Linked DNA regions of Homo sapiens: region 1 is linked to region 2. The links are contacts of gene promoters, found by promoter capture Hi-C in blood cells and fetal thymus (Javierre and others, 2016). All regions are on one chromosome and are shown on one strand. Each heading gives the region's core, a stretch centred on a gene start or on the middle of the fragment in contact. The rest is flanking DNA. Distances are from core to core; before and after follow the strand shown. Region 1 overlaps HMGCR (3-hydroxy-3-methylglutaryl-CoA reductase). Region 2 holds the start of ANKDD1B (ankyrin repeat and death domain containing 1B).

Region 1 (6,914 bases), core at 3,986-6,485, 260 kb before region 2:
TTCGAGGGATTCTTCTGCCTCAGCCACCTGAGTAGCTGGGATTACACATGTGCACCACCATCCCCGGCTAATTTTTGTGTTTTCAGTAGAGACGGAGTTTTGCCATGTTGGCCAGACTGGTCTTTAATTTCTGACCTCAAGTGATCCACCCGCCTCAGCCTCCCAAAGTGGTGGGATTATAGGTGTGAGCCACTGCACCTGGCCAGATTTATTTTTAAACCCCTTAAATTAACACTGGCATTATTTCCTATTTTAAGTTTCATCTTAATGTTCATTAGTCACTTTGAAGAACCTAACCATTTTAACAATATTATATCAGAGTATCTTGAGTATAAAATAGCACACAATTCTGCCCTGATTATTTGTTGATGAAAGTGTGTGATCATTTGAACATATTAACAAGGAAATAAGTTTGGTTTTATTAATACTAATATGATCTCATAAAATTTGCAACTAAGCTTCTGTCATGGTAGGTAAAAATATAGAATGTTGTAGGATTTAATTATGTGTGATTTAAATGACAGAGTTAATGCACTACCTCAAAGGAATATTCCTAACAAATATCTTATTCAGTGGAAAGGGAATCAGGGCACTATATGTTCTTTTTTAAAAATTTGGCTGGGCGCAGTGGCTCACACCTGTAATTCCAGCACTTCGGGAGGCCGAGGTGGGCAGATCACCTGAGGTCAGGAGCTCCAGACCAGCCTGGCCAACCTGGTGAAACCCAGTCTCTACTAAAAATACAAAAATTAGCTGGGCATGGTGGCGGGTGCCTGTAATCCCAGCTACTCGGGAGGCTGAGGCAGGAGAATTGCTTGAACCCAGGAGGCAGAGGTTGCAGTGAACCAAGATCACACCATTGCACATTGCACTCCAGCCTGGGAAACAAAGTGAGACTACATCTCAAAAAAAAATTTTTTAAAATCCTTTATATTACAATCATACTTTGTATCTTGAATACCTGTTAGTTTTATCATATTGTATATTTTACTCTTTGAATAGTAATTTGATATTAATATAAGCCATAGGATGCTCTAACATTTAAAAAAGTTGTTCTGTCCCTTGCCTTCATTGATATGTTTGATCTGTTTTAGGATGAAGTAAGGGAAAATATTGCTCGTGGAATGGCAATTTTAGGTCCTACGTTTACCCTCGATGCTCTTGTTGAATGTCTTGTGATTGGAGTTGGTACCATGTCAGGTTTGTAAGCAATTTTTGCCATATTTTAAAATAGGTATGTCGCTAAAGAGGAAAAAGAACATCTTGGATTTGTATTATTTATTGTTAAATTCTGACTTTTAAATTACTCTTAAAATTTTTTATTATATTAGTGTGTGGGTATATCTGGCCTGTTTGCTTTGGTGGAAACTTAGCAGCAGGTTACTGATTTATTTTTCACTCCTGCCATCCTCTCTTTGTGTTCCACTTTGTGATATTTTTATTCATTTGATTTCTTTTGTTTGTTTTTTTAACCAACATTGCATTCCAAGGTTGGTCTGGAAAACACTTTCCAGCCCCTGCTGTTACTTAGACTCAATTGGTGACTTGGTTCTTTGTGTTTTAATTATCATGTAGGGAGAAAAGAGTCAGGAATTGGACAGATCTGAGTAAGATTCACCTAATAAGGTGATTGGAAATATTTAATCCGATAGTAAGCAGTACATCTCAGCAAGTACCCAGCATTAGCTTCAACACATGTTTCTTCATTCTTAATTGGATAGTAGAGAATTAGATATTAATATCAAACATAGGACTTCATTATGTAGAATAAAAATTACAGACTGGCATGGAAATTTGCCAGAAGGAATATATTACGCTGTGTGAAGGTCTCCTAATCATTAGGATTATATTTTATGGCTTTCTTATAAAGACCATACTTGGTTAACTACTGTGTATTTCCTGGTACCTTAGAGCCCTCAATGAGATGCCTCATTCTTTCAGAAGTAAATTATCTAACTTTTAAGGGGGTAAATTATTGTCATTAGTTTAGGCCTCTTCAGTAGATAGTATATTAAAAATGTAATATTGCTTCTAACTTTCTGAGAGCAAATTATTATTTATTTATTTTATTCAACAAAGATTTTATTTAGCAAATAAAATATTTTTTAATTTTAAAAATTTACTTACTTTAAAATTTACTTTTGGGAGTACAATTTTATGAGTTTTGACAATGACATAGTCTTGTAACCACCACTACACTCAAGAAAAAATGTTGATCAGGTGAAAATGTACTTGTTTGATTTTATTCAAGCAAAAGAATATATGAGAAGGGGATTCGCCAGGAAGTAATAGTTGGGCCATGAAACCATGGGATTATTCATTGAAATAATAATGATGTGGAAAGCAGCTGGGCGATGAGTTTTGTCATGATATGGTCAGAGAAGTAGACAAAGGAAGTGATTAGATTTGTGGTTGGAGAAGACAGTGAGACATTTACAGCTATACAGAAATGGTATAATTAGAGATTTGGGTTACGGTAAAAAAGGACAGATTTAACACATATTAACTTGGAAGTAACCCTTTGAAAAAGCCAGTACAAAAAGAAGAAAGTCTTAGCTTCTTGGATGTCTGTGGATTGGTGCTGTTTCTTTGTGTGTAGAGAGACTTATCTGGGGACACAGTAAGGAAGAATGCCTGGAGAGCATATGGCAACAACATGAGTGAATATTGTGCAGAGAGAAATAGTAGATAGTCAAGTCATGAAAGCATTGGTCAAGTATGGTTTTAATGGCCTCAAGTTTGAAAAGATTATATTCAGCTACTATTTAAAATGTAGTTTGATTTATAATGCTTTTGTTATTGTGATTTTGTAGTCTCTTGAATTTCCACATTTGAGGGTAATCGTGGAATTAAAAAAATACAATATATGCTTGTTCTAGTCAGTCAAATGATATCTTAAAATTTAGGTAATAAAATACAACTTTGAGTTTTTGTGAGCAGTTTTTATAGGACAATTTAAATTTATGTTTCAAAGCATTGGGAATTAAAAAAATACAATATATGCTTGTTCTAGTCAGTCAAATTATATCTTAAAATGTAGGTAATAAAATAAAACTTTGAGTTTTTGTGAGCAGTTTTTATAGGACAATTCAAATTTGTGTTTCAAAGCATTGTTATGTTTGAGCGACATCAGAAATATGTTTTATATTATACTCAAGTTTATTTGTAAAGTGAGGGAGAAGGATTTGGTGGTCATCTAAGGTCTCTTCTAGCCTCTATAATTCTGTTTTCTATTTGAGATCACCAAATGATACCTTAAACAGTTGTAGTACAATATGTTTGTTAATTTTTAGTCTTAAGTTGGCATTTTGTATTATATCATTTTCCAAACAGATCAATGAAATAACCAAAATTATAAGAACTTCAGTAGGCATCATAGAGGTTATATTGAAATTAGAGTTTGTTGGTACACAAAAAATATTATTTTGACCTTATATCAGGACTGGCATAACTGGCAGGATATTCTACTTATATAAAAAATCCTTGGTTAATTGGCAAATTGCTTTTCTCCTAACAAGTGGGATTAGATCAATAGTGTCACTGGGGTTTTGCTCTGTTAGAGTAGCCTGTCCTCTCCTTATTTAATAATAAGGCACTACTGCTTGACAAAAAGGAATTGGAAACACATATGTTTTATCAATTGTGTATTAAACACTACCATTCTGCCTGGCATTGTGATATGGGGACATGAGAGAAGGCAAGAGCTTTGCTCTTGAGGGACTTAGAGTTCTGTTGTTATTCCTGCTGTTTCCTAAGGCTTGGCATCACCTCTAAGTTGCTAATTCTATTTCCAGTAAGTGGCAAGGAGCTTAATGTACTAATATTTTCATGTTTTGTCCACCTGCAGGAAGACAAATATATCCTTGTGATATATGCAGCATAAAAAATAACGTAGACTTTACTAGTTGTATCTTTAATTTTTCTCTAACCAGGGGTACGTCAGCTTGAAATTATGTGCTGCTTTGGCTGCATGTCAGTTCTTGCCAACTACTTCGTGTTCATGACTTTCTTCCCAGCTTGTGTGTCCTTGGTATTAGAGGTAAGACCAATTCTTACATATGGCACTAGTAGAAGAGTAAGATTTCTGCTTACACAGTTTACCTAAACAGAATCAATACCTTCTAATGTCACACTGACTTAATTTGTAGCTTTCTCGGGAAAGCCGCGAGGGTCGTCCAATTTGGCAGCTCAGCCATTTTGCCCGAGTTTTAGAAGAAGAAGAAAATAAGCCGAATCCTGTAACTCAGAGGGTCAAGATGATTATGGTAATGACATGGTTTTCTTCTTCTTTTAGTATCCTCAGTTCCAATCTCATTATTTTTAAGATTTCTTTTTTTCTACAATTTTGGCCCATTCAATGATATTGCACCCCCTTCTTCCTTTTTTTCTTAATGTGTTCATTTCTTTGAGGCTCCTGGTCTTTATTAGCCCCTCTCTCCTAAACAGACTTTTTAAGTTCCCCCACCTTATCTCTCGTTGAAAGCCTGTTCTTTGGGGTGTTTTCAGTAGTTCAGTGGGGTCACTACTTTAGTTAGTTGCATAGCAAGCTTGGGGCTTTTTTTTTTTCATGGTAAGGGGAAGCTATGAGAGATAATGTCTGGCTGTCCAGTTGCTAGGGATAAGAAATTTAAGTTCTATTGATATGCAGAGGATACATTACTTTAAAAATTTTATTTCAGTCTCTAGGCTTGGTTCTTGTTCATGCTCACAGTCGCTGGATAGCTGATCCTTCTCCTCAAAACAGTACAGCAGATACTTCTAAGGTTTCATTAGGACTGGATGAAAATGTGTCCAAGAGAATTGAACCAAGTGTTTCCCTCTGGCAGTTTTATCTCTCTAAGTAAGTTAATTGAAATCTACTTTGTGATATATTAATCATAACACTCTATGCTAATGTAAGTTTAGATTGTGTCCTTTACATTTCTGAATAAGATTTTAATTTGCTTTCTTTTATTTAGAATGATCAGCATGGATATTGAACAAGTTATTACCCTAAGTTTAGCTCTCCTTCTGGCTGTCAAGTACATCTTCTTTGAACAAACAGAGACAGAATCTACACTCTCATTAAAAAACCCTATCACATCTCCTGTAGTGACACAAAAGAAAGTCCCAGACAATTGTTGTAGACGTGAACCTATGCTGGTCAGAAATAACCAGAAATGTGATTCAGTAGAGGAAGAGACAGGGATAAACCGAGAAAGAAAAGGTAACTTGTTATTCTCTTCGCTTTCAATCCTTCATTGCTTTGTCAAAAAGTAGTCTGTTTTCAAAATTATGTGCCGTGTTGTGAGATTTCTTTTGATTTCTTGAACAGTTGAGGTTATAAAACCCTTAGTGGCTGAAACAGATACCCCAAACAGAGCTACATTTGTGGTTGGTAACTCCTCCTTACTCGATACTTCATCAGTACTGGTGACACAGGAACCTGAAATTGAACTTCCCAGGGAACCTCGGCCTAATGAAGAATGTCTACAGATACTTGGGAATGCAGAGGTGAGGATGATAACATAAACTCCAATGTGGCATTTTTCATTACAAAGGAGCTTTTTCAAGGAAGAAAAATCTAGTATCTGCTGAACACTACAGCTAAGTTCTGGGCACGGTGTAACATGACTAACAGATACTATCTTCTTTCTTTATTTCACACAACCTTGAGAGGTAGGTACAATTATCTATTTTTCAGATGAGAACATTGAGGCTCCAATATGTTTAATTTCCCAAAGTAGTACCTCTAGGAAATGATAAAGCTGATAGCAGGGTCCAAGATTTTCTGACTCCAGAGTCAAAACTCTTTCTAGTTTATTACTGTTTATCATAGAGATGAGTGACTACTGTATTCTCATAGGTGTGTTGAGGCCTAGAAAGAGTTTAACACAGAGACAAGTTTCAAAGATAGAAGAAAGTTTGTTTTTGTTTTGTTTTGTAAGCTTGATACCCATGAGGAAGTTTGCTTTTCTTTCTGACATTTGAACAGGACCTTCTGCCTACATGACCATATGAATCTACTCATGCTTTCATGCAAATAATCATGTTCCATCCATGTCTGCTTAATATGGTTCTTTCTTTTAAATATATGTTAATACGTTTATTGGTAAAATGCAATTTTTTGCCAGCTTTATTGAGGTATACTTGACAAAATTTTATTTTATTATTATTATTATTATTATTATTATTATTGTTTTGGAGACAGAGTGTCACTCTGTCACCCAGGCTGGAGTACAGTGGCACCATCTTGGCTCACAGCAACCTCCACCTCCCAGGTTCAAGCGATTCTTGTGTATCAGCCTCCCGAGTAGCTGGGATTACAGGCATGCGCCACCATGTCTGGCTAATTTTTGTGTTTTTAGCAGAGATGGGATTTCACTATGTTGGCCAGGCTGGTCTCAAACTCCTGGCCTCAAGTGGTCTGCCTGCCTTGGCCTCCCAAAGTGCTGGGATTACAGGTATGAGCCACTGCATGCCCGGCCTGCATTCTTCAATCATATGCTTTTTAGCTAAACTTAGTCATTGTTCTTTAAATACAGTTCCCAACTCTGGGTTCCTATTCTTGTCATCTGACATGTCTCCCCCTCTCCAGGTGTTCACACCTTTAGGGCAAATGCTAGCATCTCTATGAAACCTACCTCAATTCCGCCAAACAGAAGTAACCTTTCTTTTCTGAAGCATCCATTATATAGAGACTGTGCATTTTTAATGGCAGTCGTACCTTGTTGCTTATATCACATTTACATGAATATCTCCATTATTAGACATCGGGCTCTTAGATGGCTAAGTCCATGTCTTGAGAGGGCCTTGGATTTCATAGGTGCTCAGTAAACTTACTAAGAGAATGAATGAATTTGCATTGATAATACATAAACCAGCTAATGTTTATCTTACTATTCTTTTGAAAAATTAGGCTAATATTAGTGTTT
Region 2 (6,917 bases), core at 2,495-4,994:
ACACTTTGAGACTTTCACAAGAAACAAATTAAAAAATTGTTTAAGCCATAGTTACTTGGGTTTTCCTATTAATTATAGCTGAATCCTAGCTGATAAAGGACATAAAGATTATTAAGACATGTTTGTCCTCAAAAAATGGAGAGCCACCCCAGGGACAGTTTCTATTCAATGTAGGGAGGGCTATAATAGATGAATATACAAAGTGGGAGTCTAGGGAGAAATCGTCTGGTAGAGGAGGGCAAAGAGAAATCTAGGAAGATGTTTTTAAAAATATGGAATCCTTGAACAGGACCTGGTTTTAAAGGTTTACTTCAGAATTGAACATATTTTTTTAGTCTAGACCTTTAGGGGAAAAACTTAAAGCTTTCAGGACTCAAAGACAAGTTACTGTTCCCATGGCTAAATTGCATTCCATATTTATTTGACAAATACTTATTGCAGGTCGGGTACTGTTTTAGCCACTGGAGATGCAGTAAGAAACTTAATTAATTTTTTTTTTTTTTGAGACAGAGTCTTGCTCTGTCACCCAGGTTGGAATGCAGTGACATGATAACAGCTTGCTGCAGCCTTGACCTCCGTGGCTCAGGCCATACTCCCATCTCAGCTTCCCAAGTAGCTAAGACTACAGGTCTGCCCCACCACCACCAGCTAATTTTTAAATTTTTTGTGGAGACTGGAGTCTCACTAAGTTGCCCAGGTTGGCCTCAAACTCCTGGCCTCAAGCCATCCTCCCACTTCGGCCTCTCAAATTGCTGGGATTATAGGCATGAGACACCACGCCTGGCCCAACAAAGTTTTAAAAATCACTGTATTTATGAAGTTTACATTCTAGTTGTGGAAACCGACACTAAACAAATAGACATTTCAGTGGTAAGTGTTACAAAGGAAAGAGACAACAGCATAAGGGAATGGAACATGAAGGTAGGGGACACTTTTAGAATAAGATGATCCGAGAAGGCTCCTCTGAGGAAGTGACATTTAACCTGAAACCTTAATGATACGAAGGATCAAAACTATTTTAAAAATTCGGAAGTGGAGGTGGGGGAGAGAAGTTCTAGGCAAAGGGAGGAAATAGAAGCTGATGGCTCTCCACCAGGAAACAGTGGATGAAGAATGGAGAAGAATTGTAGGGCCCAAGATCAGAGAGATGAGTAGGGCCAGATCATGTGGGCAAGCTTTTATGTATTAGCACGCTTAGAATTAATATTCTGCTTGAGAACTAACCTGATATTTGAAACAGAGTGAAAAAGAAAATACCTCCCACAGTATACTTCATAGCTTCTTATTTAGCCCAAGCTGTCAGGGAAATAAAGTCCAGCTATGGCTAAGTTTCACATAATGCACTGCTTTGGAGTTTTTGTCTCATCTGTTAGAGTAAGATAAGTACCACATACTATTATAAGGCTATATAGCATAAAATGATGATGCATTTTCTCCTGTCATTGATAAGAGGATTTTTTTAAAAGTAAATTTCTTGGTTTAGAATTTGAAAGCAGTTTCAAACTTGGATAACACAATTCAGATCTTTTTTTAAAATTATTTTTTATTTATATTAAAAAAAAATTTTTTTTTTGAGATAGGGTCTGGCTCTATCACGCAGACTGGCACACAGTGGCACAATCTTGGCTCATTGCAACCTCTGCCTCCCAGGCTGAAGCCATCCTCCCACCTCAGCCTCCCAAGTAGCTGGGACTACAGGCATGCACCACCATGCCTGGCTAATTTTTGTAGAGAGGGGGTCTCACTTTGTTACCCAGACTGGGAGATTTTTCTGTACTTGGCTGTATGCTTTCCATTGATCTGCTGCTGTTTTCACTATTATTCCTTCTTTTGTGTGGGTATTTTCTTTTGATTTTTAGAATTTTACTTGTAAACATGCTACATATACATATAATTTGGTGCCCTGTTTTTCCATTTACATATTATACTTTCCATATTAGTACATTGTCTGATATTTCTGCATAATACTCAATTCAACTTACCTGCTATTGTTTTTATCATATCTCTATTACAAACATTAGGCCCATTTCCCTTTTTTAAAAGAGGAAAGTTTGAGGTTATGGGCGGTGTTCTGATAAAATAAATAATATTTTGTCATGTTTGTTTTTTCATTGATTAGGAAACATTGTTTTGAATTTAATGCCTCAAATTTGGTGCACAATAATTTGAAGGGAAAAACTGACAAGTTTGAAATGAACATTGATATTACATAATTTACATTAAAATGATACATCTTTTGTAAATTTGTAAGAAGAATAAATAAATGAAAACCTGATTACCTTTCTTATTTGAAGTTTATTTGGGGGGTCAGAATTTGACTTGCTTCTGTATTATTTCACTTTTCAAAAGAATCCGCCAGGAAAGATTAAAATTCATGGTCTTCAAATGAGAAATCAAGTCTTACTTTATTCAAAAGAAAATGTTGGAAGCCCATTTAGAAATGATTTAATATTGAAGTTCCTATAGTGTTAGTTATAAATTCAACCTTGACATTTCTCAAAATTATACAAAGAAGTGGTAGAGTAGAGCTGGGAGTTCATTGGGGCTTGTAGATTTTGCAGGAATTTTTTTTTTTAATGTGTTAAAACAAATTTTATTTACAATAACAGGCAGCAGCGGGATTTGGCCTGGGGATGGAGCAAAGTGACCCCCTGCTGTAGAGCAAGGTGAGTGAGTCACGCCCTTGACAACACATTCTTAGAAGTCATGCTCGTTAGGGGCAAGTTCTGTTTCTTCCACCAACGTCTTCAAGCCTCAGAATCCTTTTCTATCAAACGGGGCTAATAATAGAATACACCATACCTCAGAATTAAGTGAGGCTGTGCAAAAGGTGCTTAATTCTGTGCCTGAAATGTAGCAACAGACAATAAATCCATCTAACAACAAATTCTTATGAAGAAGGTATTACAATAAATTCTTATGAAGAAGTTATTACAATAAATTCAGTGACAAGCAATGATGGCAATGGAAATAAAAATGGAGAAGCAGATGTAATTAAGAGATTTGAGAAGTAAAATTGGCAGTTCCTGGTGACTAAAGCATGTGTTAATGATAGTGATAGTGATATCCTTGGACCATTAGTTGTTCAGCTTTGAATACCCTCCCCAATTTCTCTGCTTATTCTTTTTTTTTTTTTTTTTAGTATTTATTGATCATTCTTGGGTGTTTCTCGGAGAGGGGGATGTGGCAGGGTCATAGGATAATAGTGGAGAGAAGATCAGCAGATAAACACGTGAACAAAGGTCTCTGGTTTTCCTAGGCAGAGGTCCCTGCGGCCTTCCGCAGTGTTTGTGTCCCTGGGTACTTGAGATTAGGGAGTGGTGATGACTTAACGAGCATGCTGCCTTCAAGCATCTGTTTAACAAAGCACATCTTGCAGCGCCCTTAATCCACTTAACCCTGAGTTGACACAGCACATGTTGCAGAGAGAACGGGGTTGGGGGTAAGGTTATAGATTAACAGCATCCCAAGGCGGAAGAATTTTTCTTAGTACAGAACAATATGGAGTCTCCTATTTCTACTTCTTTCTACACAGACACGGTAACAATCTGATCTCTCTCTCTTTTCCCCACATTTCCCCCTTTTCTATTCGACAAAACCGCCATTGTCATCATGGCCCGTTCTCGATGGTCGCTGGATGTTTTATTTTCCAGAGAACCAAACCTTAGCACTGTGCACGCCACACCTGAGGGCGGATTATCCCAGGCCAGCCCAAGTCAGGGCAGGGCTGGAAACTAGGGGCTTGTTGCCCAGCGAACCGCCACAACAGAGAGCGGACTCGATCCTGCGCTCCGGCCGGGCTGACCTGCCTGCGTCCAGCCCCCGCGCCCTGGGCCTGCCTGGGTCTGGATCTGTGTCCGAGTCTGGGTCTGGATCTGGGTCCGAGTCTGGGTCTGGCCCTGCGCTCAGGGCCCGCGGAGGAGACTATGGACCCCGCCGGGCGCGCCCGGGGCCAAGGGGCCACGGCAGGGGGGCTGCTGCTCCGGGCTGCTGCGGCCGCCAAGGGTCTCAGGGAAGACCTGTGGGGCGCGGCCGCCCTGCCTTGGAGGAGCCTGTCCCGGATCCCGAAGCGGGAGGGTCTTGGAGAGGAGGACACAGCAGTTGCCGGACACGAGCTCCGTGAGTCCCGGGACGAGGTCTCAGAAAATCAGGCTGCGGGGCGGGCTGGGTCGAAGGGACTTGAGAAGGTACCCAGAGCAGCACCTCCGGACGCTGCAGGAGGGAAACTGGCGAGGCGACTCAGCCCTGGGACCCCGAGTCCCAGCCTGCACCGCTGCACTCCCTGTTGGCTGGTTTTCAGCTTTGGAATCCACCCCCACCATGTACTGTGGGTGGAAGGACAGTATTATTCTTCCGAATTAAGGAGGAGGCTTTTAAAAATAATGATTAAGTCCTTTTGCAAATAAGAGTTTCATGTGCTCTTATCTCCTATATCGTGACTCATGCTCCGATTTATTGTCTGACTTTAAATAAGTCAGTCACTTAATCTTTCTGCACTTAAGTTTTTAAAGCATGGAGTGGATCATCTATGCCTTGGGAATAATGTGTAGCATAAACTGAGGCAGCTGTTAAGCAGTTCGAAAGCTGAAAGCGATTTAAGTCTGCCCCCGCCCCCCCCCGCCCTCCGCCCCGCCCCCGCCCTCCGCCCCGCGTGTAGGGTCTTGTTGCTCTGTTGCACAGGCTGGAAGGCAGTAGTGCAATCACAGACCTCCTCAGGCTCAGGTGATCCTCCCACCTCAGCCTTCCCAGTACTCAAGCCTCTTAACGGGGCACACCATCCAAGCCTACTGGCTGGGACGGCCTTATTTCCTAAACCAGGCTTGGAAGCTATACACCAATTCATCAATATAGTGTTCATTCAGTCATTCTAGAACTATTTTCAAGGGCTTAACTATTTGCTAGGCATGTTCTAGATGTAGGGTTGGAGAGAACAAGACAACCCCTGTTCTGGTGGAACATTCTGTTGTGGTGGAGGGGTGATAGACAATAAAATAAGTACGCAAATAAATGAATAAGATAATTTAAGGTAAGTGCAGTGAAGGCCATGAGACAGGGTAATGTGGTTGGAGTCAGGCTGCCTGGGACAATTCTATAACTTACAAAGCATGAGCAAGTGGTATAACTTTTGAAGATCTCAGTTTCCTCATCTGTAAAATGGAGGAATCATGCCTACATCAACAGATTATTTGTTTTATATAAACCCTAGGGCATTCTAATAGTTGGAGATCAAGCAAAGGAAAAAGAGCCAGTAGAAAAGACTAGAAAGCGAAAGTTGGTTTACCAGACCTCTAGAGAAGAACATGTTACATGGAGTGTGTGTTCCTCTGTGTCAAAGTTGCCAAGAGCTCAATGCACATGACGGAGGTATGATGACTGGGTTTTGGCAAGGCGGAGTGACCTCAACAAGAGCAGTTTCAGTAGAGGGGTGGGAAAGATGTCTGATTAGCATGGGTTGAGACAAGACTGTGAGATGAAGAAATGGAGACAGCAATTATAGAATACTTAAGTTTGGGGTAATGGAAAGTTGAAAAATGCAGCAGCAGTTGGAAAGGAAGCTGGGGTCAAGGGAGGGTTTTTTATGCATAGGGTATTATGGCATCTCAGTATTTTTTGAGGGGAGTGATCCACTGGAGAGAGATTAAGTGATCTAGAGGAAAGAAGAGATAATTTCCAGGAGATTGACATATGAAACACTTGAAAAGATAAAAGGGGATGGGATCCAGAGCCCAAGTGTAGAGGTTGGCCTTTCCTAGGTACAGGGATGCTTCATCCTGCATATATAAATGAAGGTAGGTTGGTAGACTCACCTAGGTGGGAAGATGTGGGAATTCGTGTCCTATTACTTCTGTTTTCACTATGAGGCAACGGTATTAACTGAGAATTAGGTGATGGTAGTGGGAGGAAGTAAATTACGTAGATTAGTAAATTCAGATATTTGAGGAGAAAGGAAAGGATATGACATGTTGAAGAAGGGAAGACTAGGGAAATGTAGAGGCTAGCTAGTCGTGCTGAGATTAGTGGGGAAGAATTTAAGAGACCTGTTAGCATGTGTATCAGTCAGGACAAAGTAAGCTTTTCCTGCAGCAATAAATGACTCCTACATCTGAGTGACTGGACTTAAAAACGATCTATTTCTGACTGGGTGTGGTGGCTCACACCTATAATCCCAGCATTTTGGGAGGCCAGGTGAGAGGATCACTTGAGACCAGGAATTCAAGACCAGCCTGGACCACGTAACGAGACCCTGTCTTTACATTTAAAAGAAAGATATATTTCTTGTTCGTGTAGCATGTCCAAAATAAGTTGGCGAGGGTCTCTCATCTTCTTAGTCTCTCAGGAACCCAGGTGTCAAGGATCATAAAGGGGTTGAGATTTTACCCTACTTGTAATCTCACAAGTTAGCTTGCTAGGTGATAGAGATGCTGGCAGAAGACACTTCTGGATCAGAGTTGATGAATTTCATTACTCATAGCAGTAGCAGTAGCCAGAGTGTTAGCATTTGTGTCAGTTCTCCAAGCCCCAATTCCCACAGGGAGATATAAAGATGCCAAATGACACCTGCACACACAGTGGGTTGTGTTACAGAAAAATCCTGCGCTTAGGGAACCCAAATCTTTTGTAATAGTCAGTAAGCATGCCTTACCATTGCTTTCTTCCAAGGCTGCAAGCAAACCTGCCCTTTGCTCCAGAGGAAGATATTATCTCTGTCTGTCAAGGCTTTTCACTATACAAACATCCTTGAAAAGGTAGTAAAGAGCAAAGCCAGTCAGTGCTTTTGCTTGTAAGATGTGCAGAAATGTGAGAGACCCAGGGAGAATTGTGTCCCAATACCAAGTTGATGGAGGTACCACCATCTTGTAACCCCTTCATTTAAACACATGGCTTCCAGTGTTGATAAGGCAGGGAAAAGAGACCTA

What was found. Contacts are between HindIII fragments. The CHiCAGO score rates a contact against its expected background, and 5 or more counts as called.
Region 1: a fragment that was not itself captured here is called in contact with the fragment with the promoter of ANKDD1B in region 2 in 1 of 17 cell types (endothelial precursors); the score reaches 5.1 in endothelial precursors.

What each region holds. Positions count from the first base shown.
Region 1 is chr5:75,346,110-75,353,023 of GRCh38, forward strand. It overlaps HMGCR (3-hydroxy-3-methylglutaryl-CoA reductase), which reads left to right. Exons shown (of 20, transcript NM_000859.3): 6 at 1,095-1,200; 7 at 3,933-4,039; 8 at 4,149-4,265; 9 at 4,680-4,840; 10 at 4,959-5,206; 11 at 5,315-5,493. Among named protein-coding and RNA genes, the nearest start is that of HMGCR, 12 kb to the left of the region's middle. The HindIII fragment of the contact is 1,380 bases long and covers 4,546-5,925 here.
Region 2 is chr5:75,607,709-75,614,625 of GRCh38, forward strand. ANKDD1B (ankyrin repeat and death domain containing 1B) reads left to right here and starts at 3,745. Exons shown (of 14, transcript NM_001276713.2): 1 at 3,745-4,119. The coding sequence starts at 3,927. POLK (DNA polymerase kappa) reads left to right here. Exons shown (of 15, transcript NM_016218.6): 15 at 1-2,283. RefSeq lists enhancers at 2,431-3,238, 3,239-4,045, 4,046-4,852. The HindIII fragment of the contact is 4,897 bases long and covers 1,174-6,070 here.